Linked DNA regions of Homo sapiens: all the other regions are linked to region 1. The links are contacts of gene promoters, found by promoter capture Hi-C in blood cells and fetal thymus (Javierre and others, 2016). All regions are on one chromosome and are shown on one strand. Each heading gives the region's core, a stretch centred on a gene start or on the middle of the fragment in contact. The rest is flanking DNA. Distances are from core to core; before and after follow the strand shown. Region 1 holds the start of COMP (cartilage oligomeric matrix protein). Region 2 overlaps ELL (elongation factor for RNA polymerase II). Region 3 overlaps ELL (elongation factor for RNA polymerase II).

Region 1 (3,622 bases), core at 1-2,500:
GCGCGCAGTGGAGCAGGGGCCGCACGCTGGGTAGGCCGGTGCGTACTGACTGCTGCATCCCTGCGGGGGGGAGGGGGGAGAAGCGGCGGGGCTGATCGGTGGCTCGCCCGGGGGCAGAGCCTATCATGGCCACGCCCCGGGGCTGGAGGCTTCCCCTTCCCCCCCACCCCCCGCCCCGGGGCGGCCCGAAATCCTGCGCTGTCCGCGATCCCGCCCCAGAGGCTGCGCGCTCTGACCGCGGGGTCTCCCCGGTCTCTTCTCTGAGTCTCTGTCCCGCTTTTCTGCCCCGTGGCGTCTCTCACTTCCCCAAAACTCTCTCACCGCTTCTGTCTCTTTTTGTCTCTGTTTCTACACACCCCATCCCATTCCCGTTCGTCCGTCCACCTCTCCGTCAGCCTCCATCTCCTTCCGTCTCTTTTCCTCCCCAGCTTTCCCTGGCTCTCTGTCTCTGTCTCTGTGTCTCTGTCTCCCGTCTCTTCTCTCTCCCGACCGCCCCGCCGCGCTCACCGCACGCGTCACACTCCATCACCGTGTTTTTCAGGAACGTGATCTCCCTGACCTGCAGGGGTGGGATGGAATCAGCGGGGTCCCAACCTCTCCTCATCCCTCGGGTCTCCCCTCTCTCTACCCCGGGGTCCCTTTCTACAGCCTCTTTTCGCCAAGGACTCCCTACCCGCCGACCCCCTTCCCTCCCCATCTCCTCTCCACCTTCTCGGGTACTTCCTCTCTCCTCGCTGGGAACTGAGACCCCCTTCCGTTCCCTGGCACTCCCTGCCCCGCACCCGGGCCCCGCACCTGCTGCCGCAGCAGCTCCCGCACGTCCTGCAGCGCCGCGTTGGTTTCCTGCAGTTCCCGAAGCATCTGCGGGCCCAGGTCTGAGCCTGCGGCGGCAGGGGACCTGGTGAGGCGTCATGGGGCCGGGGAATCCCACCACCAACTCCCACCGTTGCAGCGAACCCGGACCTCCGAGGCCCCACTGCGCTCCTCTAGTCTCGGTCCCGCCACCTGCTTTCTGCGCCCGGCACGTCCCCTACGAACAGTCCGTGAGCCCCAAACAGCCTGGATCCCGGGCCTCTCACGGGTCCTACAGTCCGTTGTGGGGCCGTGGGCACGGCGCGGGTGCTAACGCGGCTTACCCAACGGGCTCTGGCCCTGTCCGGACGCGCCGAGGGCAGCCAGGGTGAGCAGAAGAACGCAGGCGGTGTCGGGGACCATGGCGGTGGCGGGGAGCTGGGTGGCTGCTCGCTTTCTACCGCCCACGAGGCCCGCGGGGCCTATTTATCCCCAAGGCACGGCCGGCCCCAGGGACGGCCCACCACAGCCCTGCCCAACGTCCAGCCTCAAGGTAAACAGATGGCGCTGGCCCCTGCGTTCAAGTCCCCGCCCGGAATGCCCCGCGAAGTCGCCCGCGGCTGAATCCGACATGGTGGGGAAACTGAGTCCCGGGGTCTGTGGAGAGAGCTGGTGGGGCAGGGAGTCAGGGGGTACTGCCCCCACTTTCATTCACTGTGTGTGTGCGTCTGTGTGTGTGTGTGTGTGTGTGTGTGACGGGGTGTGGCTGTATCGCATCCTCTTGCTTCAGTCTCCCATGTAGCTGGGACTACAAGCCCGCACCACCAAGTCCAGCTAATTTATTTTTATTTTTATTTTTATTTTTAGAGACCGGGTCTGGCTATGTCCTGCAGGCTAGTAGTCTCAAACTCCCGGCCTCAAGCGATACTCCCCACATAACTGGGATTACAGGATCCAGCCATAGCATTCAGCTCATTGATTGATTGATTGATTGAGTGCTTGCTGTATGCCAAACCTGAGTTCCAGTTCCAAACAAGGCAGGCTCCATGGCCACGCTCTCAGCTCACACTTCGGGAAACAGAGTCACCAGCGTCTGAAAAAATAGGTCCACCCACTATGGATCAGACTGACTGGCCCTCCACTCCTCCTGAAGTGCTTCAAAACTGGGTAAGTTGCTGGGTGCGGTGGCTCACACCTGTAATCCCAGCACTTTGGGAAGCCAAGGCGGGCAGATCACCTGAGGTCAGGAGTTTGAGACCAGCCTGGCTAACATGGTGAAACCCCATCTCTACTAAAAGTACAAAAATTACCCAGGCGTAATTCCTCCCTTGCACAATGGAGGTAATAAGTTAATAATTATTAATTAATGATTAATAGTAATGATGATTATGATGATGAATGGAAAATAGGGGAGGGGCAGTTGAGACCTGGGACTCTCAATTTTCCTGCCTCTGTCCAAGGAGGCCGCTTCTGGCCCCAACGCTGGAGGGCTGCAAATGACTCCCCCCAACCCAACTCATTGCTGGTGTTCCCTCCCCTCCCCATGGTCCCTCGGCTGGTGGAGGAGGGGACAGCGTTCAGGATCTTGCCCCAACCCCTGTCCAAGGGGACAGGCCCACTTGGTTTTCCAATCTGCGCAATGGGGTGTGAGGCCCCCATCTGGAGGGGAGCAAGTTAAAGGGCTCTAGCAAGGGGAGGTCCGGGGCTTCTGTTTGTCCAGGCTGTGCCATACCTTCCAAACTGTGCTCCAGCTGCTGTGGGAACAGCCTGTAATAAAAATAAAAGTTACCGCTAACTGGCCAGCCACACTCTGGAGTTACAAAACCCCTTAACCTCCTGCAATCAGTTAACACTCTCCACTCCCACCTTCCAGTACTCACAGCGTCTATTCTATAGACAGAGAAACTGAGGCCCAGAGAGAAAAAGTGACTGGCCTAAGGCCACTGCCCGAGGGCAGGGGTGAATCTAGACTCAGAGCCAGATATGTTTTCTGGGGAGCCTACAGAGAAGTCACCGAGGGCTTCCTGGAGGAGGTAGCAAGGAGACAGACATAAAAGAAAAGGAGGACTTGGATCAGCAGAGGGAAAAGGTGAGGGCAGTTTTGGTGGAGGGAAGCATGTGAAGCTTGGAGGTGGGGACATTTCTAGACACAATAATTATTTCACAAACATCAAGGACTGTTGTGTGTCATGTCTCCTGTGCTGGGTGATGGGCACACAGGGTGAAGAAGCCAGACCCAGTCTCTCCTTCAAATGGGGAGCCCAGTGGGCTCATGGCTGTGACGGGACACACAGACAATGGTAGGAGTCCCCAGGAAATTGATCTGTTTGAAAGGGGATGGGTCAGGGCGGGCTTCTGGAGGAGGAGGGACCACCAAGCTGAGGACCGGATGATGAGGAGGACACAGCCAGGCAGAGGTAGCAGAAAGTCATTCCAGGTAGAGGAAACAGCATAGGCAAAGGCCCTGAGGCAGGAACCAACCTGGCCCGTTGGATGGACTGACCTCAAGGTGACAAGCTCTTGGGGCTCAGTGAGAAGCAGGAGATGAGGCTGTGTGTGAAAGGGCAGTGCTGGTGGTGTGGGGCTCCAGTGGTCTCCCGAGGGTAATGGGGAGCCACAGAGAGTGCGTGAAGAGAGACAGGCCTATAAGTGGAGTGTTGGTGGAAGCAGCTGGTCCCAGCCAGAGCATTTCCAATGAAGCCTGTCCTCAATAGTGCCTGCCCTGCCTGCTGCCTACATTGGGGCCATGAGCTCACCTCCTGTTTTCCTTGGCCTTCAGCACACCTGGGGGCCGCTCCTGGCAGCACTGGAATTCTCGGGAAAACCACAG
Region 2 (3,578 bases), core at 647-3,146, 280 kb before region 1:
AGGAAGTCCTCCTCTGAGTCTTTCAAGCCACTGGTATCTAACAAAGAATCTAATCTGCACACGGCACTTGCCCCGAGCTAAGAAAGTTCTGGAAGGGTCTCCTAGGTCTCCCCAGCCCAAGGTGAGCTTGCTTCTGTGGAGGGAGATGCCTGCCTGCCCATGTCCACCACCACTGCACACCAAGCCAGTCTGAAGCCACCATGATCTGGCTGTTGCTGGTTTATGGTGCACCTCCCCGCTGCGAAGAAGTGGGCCATGTGAGCGCAGGGGCTTCATCCCTCCTGCTTCTTACTGGAGAAACACTCCTGGAGGCAGCCGAACCCTCACTGGGTGCAATCCCTCTGTGTAGGAGATTGCACTGTGTAGGTTGTGCCCCGCCGAACAACCACGCAGCTGAGGCTCAGCTCAGAGACTGCATTCAGAGCCCAACTAGAATCAGACACAGGTTCTGCGGGCCCCACTACCCATCTGGAGGCAGACGCCTGACCCCCAGCTCCATCCCCAGAGATGAGGATGCAGCAGGCTGAGGCTGACTCCATGCGGCAGCTGCTCCCAACTCCACAAGGGACACACAAGCCAGCCCTTCCCATCCAGGCTGCACATGACTGTGTTTTGTTTCAAAGGTCACATACAGGTCACAAATAAAGAGGCCGGTTCCCACTGGAGGCTATGTCAGGATTGATGCAGTCCCTGAGAAAAACTCCCGGAAAACCCAGGGACTCCCATGCGGGCTGAGAAACATTTTGAGTTTGCATGAGATCAAAATAGGAGTCACAGCTGAGTGTGGTGGCTCACGCCTATAGCACTTTGGGAGGCCAAGGCGGGAGGATCACTTGAGGCCAGGAGTTAACAGACTGCAGTGAGCTATGATCACACCACTCCACTCCAGCCTGGACAGCACAGCAAGACCCTCTCTCTAAAAAATAAAAACAAAAATAGAATAAAATAAAATACAATACAAGAGTCAGCAGCCAGGAGGGTAGCCTGTCCCAGAGTGGATGCCCTCAGGTTCAAGGTTTGACATCATCTGCACTAACTGTGTGATCTCAAGTTAGCCATTATCTTCTAGATGTCCCATTAGTGAAATAAAGGGGCCAGAACAAAAGGACCCTCCAAAGTCTCAACTGGCCCTGGCCAACAGCAAGGCTTCACAGGGCTGCCTGGCACTGCACAGGGGCCTGGGAGCCCAAGGCCCGAGCCTGGCCCCACGACAGTGGTTCCATTAACACACCAACTCTTCCTGCCACACACCCAGCTGGACACCCTAGACCAGCGGCCAGCAAGCTTCTTTTATGAAGGGCCAAAGAGTTGGTATTTCAGGCTTTGTGAGCTAGACAGTTGCAGCCTTGGCTGCCGTCACAGGGCAAGAGCAGCCATAAATTACAGGTAAGCAAGTGGGCAGCTGTGTCCCTATAAAACTTTATTTACAAAGACAGGTGGCAGGCCAGACCCAGCCCTTTGGCCACAGTTTACCAACACGCTATAGTCTCTAGGGTTGCTGCTGAAAAAGATCACACTACAGCCCACTCTGTCCGCGTCCTAACAAGGCAGCAAGCCTTGTTGTGGGGATAAGCAACTATAGCAGTGACCCTGGGCAGAGCCTATAGGCCTCAGTTTCCTTGAGGACACAAAAAGAGACCCTGTGAGTCACCTCTACCACTAATTCCATGGGGAAATGGAGCAAACATGAGGTGGACGCAGCCCAGGTTCCCCTCAAGATCTCGGGAATAATATTTCAGAGTAGCCGTGAGCAGGAGGCACCCACCAGGGCCCTTCCCCACAGCAGCCAGGTTGGAGGTCCTGTGAACCAGGCGCCCTGATGCAATCCAGCAGGCATCCTTATCACAGTGCCCACTGAGACCCTAAGGTCACTCCCTCCAGGTGTAGGGGCTACAAGATCCACAGCAGGAAGCTCATTGTACCCCGAAAAGTCACTGTTTTCAGAAAGGAAAAAGGAACTTCCCAACCCAGCTTACCCTCCTCAGGCCTGTGGGAGGAGACAAGGCCACCCCAAGCCCTTTGGGTTCCTGGTGGGGAGTCACCCTTCCGAAAGAAGGGCAATGTGATGGGGTGGCCGCCCCCACCCGGCCCCTTGGCCCACAGGCCCCCACTAATCAGCCTACCCTGGATAGAGGGGCCCAACCTAAGGTCTCCAGGGTGAACACAGATGGAGACACAGGCCAATGCACGTGCGCGCGCGCGCACATACACACACACACACACACACACACACACACACACACACACACACACACACACACACACACTCCCCTCCCCAACTGGAGGCCTGGGGCTCCTCCTGGAAGTAGGTGGATTCCACCTGCCCACAGGATCCTAAGAAAACTCTGCTCCTCCTCTTCCCTCCCACCCACCTTCAGCAAATGCCTCAGGGCTAGGCCAAGGGCAGCAGCTGGACCCCCCCGCCCAGCCAGTGCCCCCCAGTGGGCTGTCCCTGACCTGCAGGACCTCCAGGCCACTTCTCACCTGGAAGAGACCTCATTTTCCACAAAAGCTTAATCCAAAAAGGGCTAAAAATAGAGATTCTGCACCCATCTGAGCTCTTTGCCTGAGAAGGGCCCTGAAGCCTCAGTACCTGCAGGGCTCAGAAGTCCTGCCACTGAGAGGCTCAACCACCCTGGCCAACCTCACCCAAGGCCCTTCCTAACCCTCACTGCTTACAGAAACCCATGTCCCAGCTGGGCACGATGGCTCACGCCTGTAATCCCAGCACTTTGGGAGGCCAAGGTGGGTGGATCACTTGAGGCCAGGAGTTTGAGGCCAGCCTGGCCAGCATGGTGAAACCCCGTCTCTACTAAAAACACAAAAAACTTAGCTGGGCATTGTGGCGCAAGCCTGTAATCCCAGCTAATTTGGAGGCTGAGGCACGAGAATTGCTTGAACCTGGGAGGTGGAGGTTGCAGTGAGCCAAGAATCACACCACTGCACACTCCAGCCTGGGTGACAGAGTGAGACTCGGTCTCAAAACAAAAAGAGAAACCTGCATCCCAACACAGGCCGGGCAACCGCACACTGGCTATGCAGAAGCAGGGCACGTAGCCACTGTCATCTCCACTCAGCCCCAGCTTCCCTCACTGCAGAGCCACACCGGGCTCTCCCTGTCCCTTTCTCTCACCTGAGCCCAGGTGATCCTGCTCGAGACCTTCCTCTGTCACCTGTGACCAGGTGACTCCTGGGTCCATCCAGGGGCATCAGAGGCCCTGCAGGTCCTAGCTCTCACAGGACAGTCACATACATGAGGGCATTTAAATGGCTCCAAGACCACCCCACACCCATTAAGATGGCTACCATCAAAAAATAACCAGTTCGGGCAAGGACGTGGCGAAACCACAACCCTTGTGCACGGCTGGTGGGAATGTAAAATGCTGCAGCCGCTGTGGAAAACAATCTGGCAAATCCTCAAAAAATTAAACACAGAATGACCAAATGAGGCCGGGAGCAGTGTCTCACACCTCTAATCCCAGCACTTTGGGAGGCCGAGGTGGACAGATAACCTGAGGTCAGGAGTTCAAGACCAGCATGGCCAACATGGTGAAACCCCGTCTCTACTAAAAATATAA
Region 3 (3,774 bases), core at 516-3,015, 330 kb before region 1:
ACTGCTGCCAGTTTCTCTGTAGCATAAACAGACATTACTGTGTGCAGTTTTTTTCAGGTTGGCAACAGTTTCCTTCGACGGGATTCCCAGAAGCCAGATTAGTAGGTCAAAGGCTGAATATTTTTATGGCTCATGACAGGCTTTGCTAAATATTACTCAGCCGTCAACACCCCTCCCCTTGAAGGATAGGCTTGCGGGTTTCCCTGGGGCTCAGCCAGTCCTAGAGGTGGACACCTTCCATCTCTGCTCTAGATTTTTCCACAGAGGGAGGGCCAAGCACCTTTGAGGCATGCAGTTTTGTCACTGCCATTCCTCAGCATGTCTGAGGGCCTGTGAGGGGCTGGAAATGACCAGTCTGGGTGAGGCACATCCCCCTCCTCTTCTACAAGCCAACAGTGTCCTGCTGACCCCCACAGCTGCTTGGGGGGAAGCAGCTGCATAATGAATATAGAAGCAAGAAGCAGACGAGCTGTCCAGGGGAAGTCACAGTGGCACAGGAAGGGACAATCTGCCTGCAGATGCTGGCCAGGCCTGCTCCCAGGAGGCACTGAACCAAAGTCACCTGGAGAAGCCAGGCACCAGCACAGACACCTCCTGGCCAGGCCAATGCAGGTCCCACATCTGATGACTCCATCGAGCTCCCTTCAGCAACTCCTGCTGGCACCATGCCAGCCCTAGCCTTGGGAGCAGGATGGGGGTGGACGAGGGCCAGGCTGACATCCTCCCAAGGAATGTGGAACAGGGTCCCACCAGCCGCGCACCCGAGAGGGACGCCTATGAGGAGCTCCGTAAACATGGAAGAACGTCCTTTATACAGCTGCTATCCCGGCATGCCACAGCATGTGCTTTTTGCTGCAGGCATCACCTGTGTTCCTGAGGTGCTGGATGTGACCCCGAACATCCCACTTCCATCATCCTAAAAGGTGCAAGAGGCTCAGCCATGTCTCTTCCTCCACCACAGCAGCGATCCGAGGAGACCCATCCTCAGTTCACCTCAAGGCTGCATCTGCATAGCCTGGCTAATGTTCTGAAGCCAGTGCGAGTCACTCCCCTTCCCAGGGACCCCAGGAAGCCAAGGTGGAGCCTCAGGAACCTCCATGGGTGAGGGGGGTGGAAGGCAGTCAGGGCCATCGCACCTGCTCCAATGCCCGGGGTGTTTCTCAAGAGCAGGCTCCACTCGCCAGCACCACATTCCAGATGGCCTAGCCTCCAACCCCAGGGAGGGGCACTGCAGGTCACAGATGGAAGCCTGATGGTCTGAGACGTGAAGCCCCTCACCCGGAGGCGCAGGTGGAGGGCGGCAGGCAGCTGATTCACACTGAGGCCTGCCAGGCTCTGCCAGGCACGTGTAGATTCCTTCCCCAGGCCTTGAGTCCACAAATCGTCTGCAACTGAAGCCTGAATCCACTGTGCCAGGCCCCACGGCCCGTGTGTCAGCAGACAGTGAAGGAGGGCCTGGGCTCCATGCTGAGTCCACCTCTCAACCCTGGACAGTCGGGGCCATGCCCAGAAACGCATCCATGGCCCCCTAAGCTTGTTCTAATCCAGGAGGCCCTGGCTCTCAGGCAGGTTCTGAACCTGTGAGAGACCCCAGGAAGGGCTCTTCCTTGCCAGTCCCAATCCCAGTCTCCATGCTCTGGCCCATCCCACCCGCACAAGACCATCTGCGGAGACCACTGGTAAAGACAAGACATCGGGGCGGCACCCACCTGCTGGAGGAGGCCATCCAGCGCGTCCTTGTCCGCCTGCGTCAGGCCGTCCTTCTGCAGTCGCAGCAGCAGCTCAGCCTTGCGGTAGGGCCGTAGTGCCAGGAGGTGCAGCACTCGGTCACGGAAGGGCCTCTGGGACACCCCGCTGCCCCCACTCACGGCACTGGCACCACTCTTCCTGATGGCACTCGCCAAGTTGATGGGGGTTGCCCGCTTCCGGGAGGGCACCGCGTCTGTTGCACCTGGGGCTGGTTTCCGAAACTGAACCTTCTTGCCTGCAACAAGAATCCAAGCTTTAGGGAACAGAGAGGGCGCTGCCGTGTCCTAAGCCAGTGCTGCTGACCAGGTGCCCAGAGGTTTGAGACTATAGACAGTGCTGGTGGGAGGCACCACACCAACCACAGCAAAAGCCAGCTTGCTCCTTGGGGACCCTGGGCGACCAAGAGCGCCACCTGCTGCCCAAGGCAGGCACCTGCAGGGCACCCAGCCTCAGAAGTGGGAGGTGCAGGCGGCAGAACTGTGTTAGAGCCTTACTTACTTCATCACAGGCAACCTAAATCCTGGACAGCAAAATCACCTGATCACTCTCACTCTGGTGGGCAGTGTGTGTGTGTGTGTGTGTGTGTGTGTGTGTGTGTGTGTGTATGTAATCACCTGATCACTCTGGTGGGCAGTATGTGTGTGTGAGAAATCACCTGATCACTCTGGTGGGCAATGTGTGTGTGCGTGTATGAAATCACCTGATCACTCTAGTGGGCTGTGTGTGTGTGTGTGTGTGTGTGTGTGTTTGGGCGGGGGGCGGGGGGGGAAGGATTGTTTTGTTTTTTGAGACAGGATCCTGCTCTGTCACCCAGGCTGGAGTGTAATACAATCATGGCTCATTGCAGCCCCAAACTTCTGGGCTCAAGCGATCCTCCCACCTCAGCCTCTGGAGTAGCTGGGACCACAGGTGTGCACCACCATGCCTGGCTAATTTATATTATTTGTAGAGATGGGGTCTCACTATGCTGCCCAGACTGGTCTCAAACTCATGGGCCCAAAGGACCCTCCCACCTCAGCTTTCCAAAGTGCTGGTATTATAAACCAGAGCCATCCTGCCCAACCTGAGGCAGGGGCTGTTTGTAAACCCTTCTGATGTTAAACTGGGGGTCCCTGAACTGCAAGAGGCAGTCACTCCCAAGCCTGCACTTCAGAGTCCTATGCTGGCCCCATGTGGCTGCCATTTTTGTTTTTCTAAAGTCAGTAAAGATGTCGGAGCCACTTTCAGCAGCTGCTCTGAAGACCCTGAGGTGCAAGTGGCACCCCAGCCTTAGGCCTGGTCAAGCTCTCCTCTGGCAGGCGTGGCTGTGCCCAGAGCCCTGGGGAGAGCAGGTTCCCCTCTATCCCCAACGCAGAGACGTGGGCAGGGTCCAGCACGCTGCTCCCCTGCTCTGTCCTGAACAATGATGCCCCGGCATCCTTGGGAACAGGGTCGGCCGAGCAAGCTCAACAGTGCCTCAAATCCTTCCCCCAAAAGCTCTTCGTAACAACATCACTCTGATCTTATCTCTCAAAATCTGATCTGTCAAATTAACCCAGAAAGCCTTGCTTTCAGAATACCCAGGGCCAGTGCTCACACCTCTGGGGTCTGTTCAGTGGGGTCCTGACAGCAGGGCTGGACTCACCCATATAGGGCCAGGCTGATTGACAGGGAGGAGGAGCAACCTGAGGGGGGCACTGTGAGACAGAGGAACACGCACATTCACATCTTTTTTTTTTTTTTTTTTTTTTTTTTTGAGACAGAGTCTCACTCTGTTGCGCAGGCTGGAGTGCAATGGCACAATCTCAGCTCACTGCAACCTCCGCCTTCCAGGTTCAAGAGATTCTCCTGCCTCAGCCTCCCGAGTAGCTGGGACTCCAGGCGCACGCCACCACAACTGGCTAATTTTTGTATTTTTAGTAGAGATGGGGTTTCACCATATTGGCCAGGCTGGTCTCGAACTCCTGACCTTGTGATCTCCCTGCCTTGGACTCTCAAAGTGCTGAGATTACAGGTGTGAGCCACTGCATCTGGCCACATTCACAT

What was found. Contacts are between HindIII fragments. The CHiCAGO score rates a contact against its expected background, and 5 or more counts as called.
Region 2: a contact is called between a fragment that was not itself captured here and the fragment with the promoter of COMP in region 1, in 1 of 17 cell types (erythroblasts). The highest score is 5.2, in erythroblasts.
Region 3: a contact is called between a fragment that was not itself captured here and the fragment with the promoter of COMP in region 1, in 1 of 17 cell types (erythroblasts). The highest score is 5.4, in erythroblasts.

The regions. Positions count from the first base shown.
Region 1 is chr19:18,790,055-18,793,676 of GRCh38, forward strand. COMP (cartilage oligomeric matrix protein) reads right to left here and starts at 1,251. Exons shown (of 19, transcript NM_000095.3): 1 at 1,137-1,251; 2 at 796-881; 3 at 508-559; 4 at 1-60. The coding sequence starts at 1,215. RefSeq lists enhancers at 1-410, 411-991, 992-1,570. The HindIII fragment of the contact is 6,208 bases long and covers 1-2,914 here.
Region 2 is chr19:18,507,392-18,510,969 of GRCh38, forward strand. The region is part of intron 1 of ELL (elongation factor for RNA polymerase II); the gene reads right to left. Among named protein-coding and RNA genes, the nearest start is that of ELL, 13 kb to the right of the region's middle. RefSeq lists an enhancer at 30-871. The HindIII fragment of the contact is 1,228 bases long and covers 1,283-2,510 here.
Region 3 is chr19:18,459,869-18,463,642 of GRCh38, forward strand. ELL (elongation factor for RNA polymerase II) reads right to left here. Exons shown (of 12, transcript NM_006532.4): 5 at 1,710-1,984. Among named protein-coding and RNA genes, the nearest start is that of ISYNA1, 24 kb to the left of the region's middle. RefSeq lists an enhancer at 2,216-2,275. The HindIII fragment of the contact is 469 bases long and covers 1,532-2,000 here.